Regions from separate parts of the Homo sapiens genome. Here region 2 is linked to region 1. The links are contacts of gene promoters, found by promoter capture Hi-C in human tissues and cell types (Jung and others, 2019). All regions are on one chromosome and are shown on one strand. Each heading gives the region's core, a stretch centred on a gene start or on the middle of the fragment in contact. The rest is flanking DNA. Distances are from core to core; before and after follow the strand shown.

Region 1 (4,138 bases), core at 453-2,952:
GGCAGGCAGCCCACGGGCGGGAGCAGACCCAAGGTGCCGTGTGTGGCGGGGGAGGCAGCCACAGGTGTGCCAAGGTGTGCTGGGACCATCCTCGGGCCGGGCGAGGGAGCCCCACTGTACCTGCACAGCACAGACGCCACCCTCAAGCCCGGTGCCGGTGCCGAATGGGATGATGGGCACACCTTGGCGATAGCACAGGGCTGCCAGCCGGCTGACCTGCTCCACGTTCTGGGGCCACACCACAGCATCAGGAGGTTCGCACCTAGAACCAGACCCTCAGCGATTTAGCGGGGCGTGACACCCTCTGGTCCCGAGGTGTTGCAGGGCCTGAGGCTACAGCAAGCGAGGGGCAGAGAACATGCCAGAGCACCCCAAAACAGATGAGTGAGGAGGAAGGCAACCCAGCACCCTCTCTCTCAGCTGGGGTTGAATCCAGAAGACAGGGGAGGGGCCCGCGAACCCTCCCATACCTGTGCACCGACTCATCGCGCCCGTGCTGCTCTCGGACCACCGCGGCAGTGGACACGTGGGAGCCGCCCACCACGGCCTTCAGAGCCTCTACGAAGTCCCTGCAGAGCTCTCCCTGCAGGGAAGAAACACACTGCCAGGGTCCCCCGAAAGACACATGGGGCCACAGCCCTGCCCCAGTGTCGGGGGGAGGGCTGGGGGCTGGAGGCTGGAGTGAGCCTCCCCTGCGCCCGCCCCGCTGACAACATCCTTGCCAGGTGGGCCCACTTTAAACAAACCCACTATCCAGAAATGCCTCTTTTCCAAACAGAGCCATTGGGGGTCAAAGTTTCCCCTCAGAAAAAAACGCCACCAGAATTTTTTTAATGTTTTCTTTTTTAATAAAAACAGGGTCTTACTATGTTGCCCAGGATGGTTTCAAACTCCTGGGCTCAAGCGATCCACCTGCCTCGGCCTCCCAAAGTGCTGGGGTTACAGGCGTGAGCCACAGCGCCCAGCCATCCAAATAAAAAACCAGAATTCACTCTCCAAAAAGGCTATCAGCAGGGTTCCTTCAATAGCCAGCCCAGCCTGAGCAACCGAAAAGATCCCTCACTTCCTCCTTTCTCCAGGGCCAACCAAGCACCACCCCAGCCACAGGGAACTCAGAGCTTGATAAGGGAATTAGGGGGAGGAAAAGCTTCCACTGCCCCCTCCCCACTCTACGTTGCCTGGGGCTTCTGGGCCCTTCGTGGGGGGCGGGGCGCGGCGGGGCGGGGGATGTGTTTCTTCCCATTTTACAGATGAGAAATGGAGGCCAAGTTAAGGACAGAGCCTGGCCTGGAACCCAGGCCCTTTCCTTCAGGGCCTTCTTCCACAGGTGTGTTTTATTCCAGGGGCATCCATTTGACTCCCCCAGCCCCACTCATGGTAGCAGTGGGGACTCAGCTGATCTCACTCTACACCCACCCACAGTTGCCACAGGGTAAGCCCAGTGCCCTTTTGCCCAAGGTCAGGTCACTTGGTGCTGGGGCGTCACAGAGCCCAGGAAACTTGGGATCAGAACCCCCTGCTCCCCGCTCCCCACCTCATCCCTCCAGAGGACTTCTCTTCTCTCCCGGTACCTTTGCCTTCTGGGAGCAGTAGCCCCTCCAGGGGAACAGCTCCCAGGTTGCAGACCTGAGCAGTCGGGCCATAGCCAGGCACTGGCCAGAGGGTGTGAGCACTGGGTGGCAGGGTGACCAGTCAGCTACTGTGGCAGCAGCTACTGCTGCTGTCAGCCCATTGGCTAGGCCAGGGGTGGGGCCTGCTTAAGGTGGCACGGGCTTTAAGGTGGCCCTTGCAGATCTTGCAGACATTTTCGTGGGCTCCAGGGACGACACTTCTAAAGGAGAGGCGAGGTTCACTGGACGTTTTGGGAAACTGTAAGGCAAAAATAAAATTCTAAGCCTCCCAACCGACTGAATGGACCTCCCTCTCAGCCCAGGGCATTCCAAAATAAACCTGAAAAATTAATTCAGGCTGTGATGGGAAGAGGTTTAGGACAAGCCTCATTATCCCCCTCCTTCCTTTAGAATTCAGACACAACTGACCAGCATTAACATTAAAACAGAGACCTTAAGGCATTCTGATCTTAAGACACAAAACAGACTCTTTGTAGCAATAAGATACCAAATTCCAACCTGACTCTAGCATCACCTGACAGATAGCAGGCCCTGAAAGAAATCAATGTATTTTACCCCCAAAATATATTCCTCTGATTTTTTTTTTAAATAGCTCCAAAAAGCTGTCTTTTGTGGGGAAAATCTAGAATCTGTAGAGAATCCCCTCCCCTTTCCAGGTTTTTTGTTTTGTTTTGTTTTGTTTTGAGACAGAGTCACTCTGTGGCCCAGGCTGGAGTGCAGTAGCGTGCTGCAACCTCCACCCACTGGGTTCAAGCGATTCTCCTGCCTCAGCCTCCCAAGTAGCTGGGATTACAGGTGCCTGCCACTGTGCCCAGATAATTTTTCTATTTTTAGTAGAGACAGGGTTTCACCATCTTGGCCAGGCTGGTCTTGAACTCCTGACCTCGTGATCCACCTGCCTTGGCCTCCCAAAGTGCTGGGATTACAGGCATGAGCCACCGCGTCCAGCCTCTTTCCAGGTTTTATCCTGATCTAAGGGAGATTTAACTAAGAGTCTGGCACCTTTTAACGCCTTAGACATTTACCATCTATGTTACATAATAAGAACCTTGGGCCGGGTGCAGCGGCTCACATCTGTAATGCCAGCACTTTGGGAGGCCAAAGTGGGAGGATCACGAGGTCAAGAGATAGAGACCCTCTTGGCCAACATGGTGAAACCCCGTTTCTACTAAAAATACAAAAATTAGCTGGGCATGGTGGTACACGCCTGTAGTCTCAGCTACTTGGGAGGCTGAGGCAGGAGAATCGCTTGAACCCAGGAGGTGGAGGTTGCAGTGAGCTGAGATCGCACCACGGCACTCCAGCCTGGCGACAGAGCGAGACTCTGTCTCAAAAAAAAAGAACCTTGGTCTCCACAACTCCTTATCTTAACCCAGATGCTTATTTCTATTGATTCCAGGTTGTCTTTTTTAAAATTTTTTATTTAAAAAAAATTTTGTTGTTGTATACCAAGATTCCAAGTCTTTGGATAATAACTTCTTTCAACCAATTGAAAATCAGAAATTTTTTTTTTTTTTTGAGATGGAGTCTCACTCTGTTGCTCAGGCAGTGGCGTGATCTCAGCTCACTACAACCTCCATCTCCTGGGTTCAAGCTGTTCTCATGCCTCAGCCTCCCAAGTAGCTGGGATTACAGGAGTGCCACCATGCCCAGCTAATTTTTGTATTTTTAATAGAGACAGGGTTTCACCATGTTGGTCCAGGCTGGTCTCGAACTCCTGACCTCAAGTGATCCACCCGCCTTGGCTCCCCAAAATGCTGGGATTACAAGTGTGAGCCACCGTGCCCAGCGCCAATCAGAAAAGTCTTTGAATTCACCTATGACCTGTAAGCTCCTCCCTCAATCAGAAGGAACCAATGCATACCCTGCTTATATTGATTACTGTCTGATGCCTCCCTAAACTGTATAAAACCAGTTGTAACTCAACTGCCTTGGGTACATGTTCTCAGGACCTCCAGGGAATGTGTCACAGGTCATGGTCTTCATGTGAGTGGTGGGAAATCCATACAGGTCTACATAAAACTCAATGCTTGCCTCATCAGAAGAAAGAATTCTACTGAAGAGGTCTGAAAGGGAAATATCTTGAGCCCCCAAAATTACTAAGCTAAAGGGAAAAGTCAAGCTGGGAACTGCTTAAGGCAAACCTGCCTCCCATTCTTTCAAAGTCACCCCTCTGATCACTGAGCTAAATGCATATCTGATTGCCTCCTTTTGAGAGGATAATTAGAAACTCAAAAGAATGCAAACATTTGTCTCTTATCTACCTATGACCGGGAAGCCCCCTCCCTGTCTTTCCAGACCCAAACAATGTTCATCTTACGTATGTTGAGTGACGTCTCAAGTCTCCCCAAAATGTATAAAACTAAATTGTGCTCTGACCACCTTGGGGACATGTCATTGGGATCTCCTGAGGCTGTGTCACACCATCATCATTGGCAAAATAAACTTTCTAAATTAACTGAGACCTTTCTCAGATTTGGGGGGTTCATATTTTGGTAACCACAGAA
Region 2 (4,138 bases), core at 505-3,004, 63 kb after region 1:
AAAATTTTTGAAGACCCATTTATATGCTGCCTATAAGAAACTCACTTCACCTTTAAGGTCATATATATACTGAAAGTGAAAGGATGGAAAAAGTATTCCATGGAAATGGAAACCGAAAGAGTAGGGATAGCTATACTTAAATCAGATAAACTAGATTTTAAGTCAAAAATTGTGACACAAAGGTCATTATATGACAAACGTGTCAATTTATCAAGAAGATATACCTCTAAATTTATATACATTCAACATCTGAGCACCTAAATATATAAAGCAAATATTAATAGACCTGAAGGGAGAGAGAGAGACTGTAACATAATATCAGTAGAAGACTTCAATACCCTACTTTCAGCAACAGACAGATCATCCAGACAGAATCAGTAAGGAGATGTAAACTACAGCTTAGACCAAATGGACCTAAGAGACATACACAGAATTTCCATCCAATAGCAGCAGCATACACATTCTTCTCAAGCACACAAGGAACTTCTCTAGGATAGGATGTATATTAGGCCACAAAACAAATCTTAAATTTAAGATTATATCAAGTATTTTTTTCCTACCACAGTGGTATAAAAATAGAAATCAGTAATAGGAAGAATTTTGAAAAATGCACGAATATGTGGAAATTAAACAACATGCTCCTAATCAGTGGGTCAGATAAGAAATTTAAAAACATCTTGAGACAGGCTGGGCGCGGTGGCTCACGCTTGTTATCCCAGCACTTTGGGAGGCTGAGGCGGGTGGATCACGAGGTCAGGAGATAGAGACCATCCTGGCTAACACGGTGAAACTTCATCTCTACTAAAAAATAAAAAAGTACAAAAAATTGCCCGGCGTGCCTGACACATGCCTGTAATCCCAGCTAGTTGGGAGGCTGAGACAGGAGAATTGCTTGAACATGGGAGGCAGAGGTTGTAGTGAGCCAACATCGCGCCACTGCACTCCAGCCTGGGTGACAGAGTGAGACTTGGTCTCCAAAAAAAAAAAAAAAAAAAAAAAAAAAAGTCTTGAGACTAATGAAAACAGAAACACAACATACCAAAATTTATGGGATTCATGCAGTGAGCTGAGATCGCACCACTGCACTCCGGCCTGGGTAACAGAGGGAGACTGCATCTCAAAAAAAAAAAAAAAAAAATTTATAGGATTCACTAAAAGCAGTTCTAAGAGATGTTTATAGCAATAAATGCCTATATCAAAAGAGAACAAATAATGCTATACCTCAAAGAACTAGAAAAAGCAGCCCAAAGTTAGAAGAAAATATCAGAACAGAAATAAATTATTCATGGATTTATTCATTCATTTCTTAGAAAAAGACAACAGGAAAAAAACCTTAAGAATTTTTTAAGATAAAATTGGAAAACTTTTAGGTAGAGTAAGAAAAAAGACAACTCAAAATCAGAAATGAAAGCTGAAGTGTTACAACTGATACCACAGAAATACGAAGGATTAGAATACCATGAACAATTATACATCAACAAATTAGAGAACCTAGAAGAAACGGATAAATTCCTAAACACATACAAACTACCAACACTGAATCATGAAGAAACAGAAAAACCAATAGGCTGGGCGTGGTGACTCACGCCTGCAATCCCAGCACTTTGGGAGGCCGAGGCGGGTGGATTACTTGAGGTCAGGAGTTTGAGACCAGCCTGGGCAAGATGGTGAAACCCCATCACTACTAAAAATACAAAAATTAGCCAGGCGTGGTGGCGGGCAACTGTAATCCCCCCTACTTTGGAGGCTGAGGCAGGAGAATTGCTTGAACCCAGGAGGCAGAGGTTGCAGTGAACCGAGATCGCACACTGCACTCCAGTCTGGGCAATAGAGTGAGACTCGGGTAGGGGGGGTGGGTGGGGAAAAGGCCAGGCACAGTGGCTCATGCCTGTAATCCCAGCACTTTGGGAGGCTGAGGTAGGCGGATTACCTGAGGTCAGGAGTTCAAGACCAGCCTGGCCAACATGACGAAACCCTGTCTCTACCAAAAATACAAAAATTAGCCGGGCATGGTGGCGGGCATCTGTAATCCCAGCTACTTGGGAGACTGAGGCAGGGAGAATCATTTGAACCCGGGAGGCAGAGGTTGCAGTGAGCCAAGATTGTGCCATTGCACTCTAGCCTGGGTGACAGAATGAGACTCCATTTCAAAAACAACATCAACAACAAACTCAGTAAGAGGCTGAATTACAAATCCATCAAAGAAAAGCGCAGGACTTAATGGTGTCAGTACTGAGTTCTACTTAACATTTAAAGAACTAATACCAATTCTTTTCAAACTCATCCAAAAAAATTGAACAAGGGGGAACACCTTCAAACTTATTTTATGAAGCCAGCATTACCCTGATACCAAAGCCAGACAAGGGCACTGGAAGAAAAAAAAAAATTACAGGCCAGTATCCCTGATGAACATAGATGCAAAAACCCTCAACAAAATACCAGCAAACCAAATTCAACAGCACATTGAAAGACAATTCACTATGATCAAGTGGGATCTATCCCAGGGATGTAAGGATGTTTCAACATACACAAGTCTATAAATGTGATCTACCACATTAACAGTATGAAGGACAAAATCTATTCTGATCACCTTAATAGATGCAGAAAAAGCATTTGACAAAACTCAACATCTTTTCATAATAAAAACTCTCAAAATAGATATAGAAAGAATGTACCTCAGCACAAGGCAGGCCATATATGACAAGCCCACAGCTAACATACTTAATAGTGAACAGTTGGAAGCTTTTTATCTGGCTGGGCACAGTGGCTAACACCTGTAATCCCAGTCCCTTGGGAGTCCAAGGCAGGCGGATCACTTGAGGTTAGGAGTTCAATACCAGCCTGGCCAACATGGCGGAACCCTGTCTCTACTAAAAATACAAAAATTAGCCAGGTGTGGTGGTGCAGCCCTGTAATTCCAGCTACTTGGGAGACTGAGGCAGGAGAATTGCTTGAACCTGGGAGGCAGAGGTTGCAGTGAGCCAAGATGGAGCCACTGCACTCCAGCCTGGGCAACAGAGTGAGTCTGTGTCAAAAAAAAAAAAAAAAAAAAAAAAAAAAGAGAAAGCTTTTCATCTACTATCAGGAACAAGACAAGAATGTCCACTCTCACTACTTCTATTCAACACAGTATTGGAAGTCCTAGCCAGAACAGTTAGGCAAGAGAAAAAAATGAGGCTTCCAGACGGGAAAGAAAGAAGGTAAATTGTCCATGTTTGCAGATGCTATGATCTCATATAGAAAACCTTAAAGAGTCCACCAGAAAACTTTCAGGACTAATGAATGAATGAAGTTGCAGGATACAAAAATCAACGTACAAAAATCAGTAGTGTTTTATATAAACAATGACCTATCTATACAAGAAGTCAGTAAGACAATCCCATTTACAATGGCTACACAAAGTTAAATACTTAGGAATAAATTTAACCAAGGAGATGAAAGACTGGTACACCAAAAACTGTAAGACGCAGATAAAAGAAACTGAAGATACAATTAAATGGAAAACTATCCTGTGTTCCTGGATTGGAGGAATATTGTTAAAATGTTCACACTGTCCAAAGCAATCTACAGGTTCAATGCAATGCCTATCAAAATTCCAATTATATTTTCCACAGAGATAGAAAAAACAATCCTAAAACTTGTATGTAACCACAAAAGACCCCAAATACCCAAAGCAGTCTTGAACAAAAAGAACAAAGCTTGAGGCTTCATACTAACTGTATCAGTGCATTCTCACACTGCTATAAAGAACTACCTGACACTGGGCAATTTATGAAAAAAAGTTTAATTGACTCACAGTTCCACAAGCTTAACAAGAAGCATGACTGGGAGGCCTCAGGAAACTTATACTCATGGTGGAAGGCAAAGGGGAAGCAAGCAGCTTCTTCACATGGTAACCGGAGAGCATGCTAGCAAAGGGGGAAGTGCCACACACTTGTAAACCGTTAGATCTCATGAGAACTCACTATCAGGAAAGCAGCAAGGGAGAAATCCACCCCCATGATCCAATCACCTCCCACCAGGCCCCTCCTCCAATTCGACATGACATTTGGGTGGGGACACAAATCCAAACCATATCACTAGTTGAATTCAAAATACACTACAAAGGTATAGTAACCAAACAGCATATTAGCATCAA

Evidence for each region. The method cuts DNA at HindIII sites, captures the fragments that hold promoters and counts their contacts. A contact is called where the count stands out against the background at its distance.
Region 2: a fragment that was not itself captured here is called in contact with the fragment with the promoter of LDHD in region 1 in 1 of the 25 tissues and cell types used here (heart left ventricle).

Annotation. Positions count from the first base shown.
Region 1 is chr16:75,115,078-75,119,215 of GRCh38, forward strand. It overlaps LDHD (lactate dehydrogenase D), which reads right to left and starts at 1,703. Exons shown (of 11, transcript NM_194436.3): 1 at 1,572-1,703; 2 at 471-583; 3 at 121-262. The coding sequence starts at 1,643. It also overlaps a transcript of ZFP1 not described here. RefSeq lists an enhancer at 934-1,228. The HindIII fragment of the contact is 8,282 bases long and covers 1-4,138 here.
Region 2 is chr16:75,177,944-75,182,081 of GRCh38, forward strand. No RefSeq gene overlaps it. Among named protein-coding and RNA genes, the nearest start is that of CTRB2, 27 kb to the right of the region's middle. The HindIII fragment of the contact is 3,256 bases long and covers 127-3,382 here.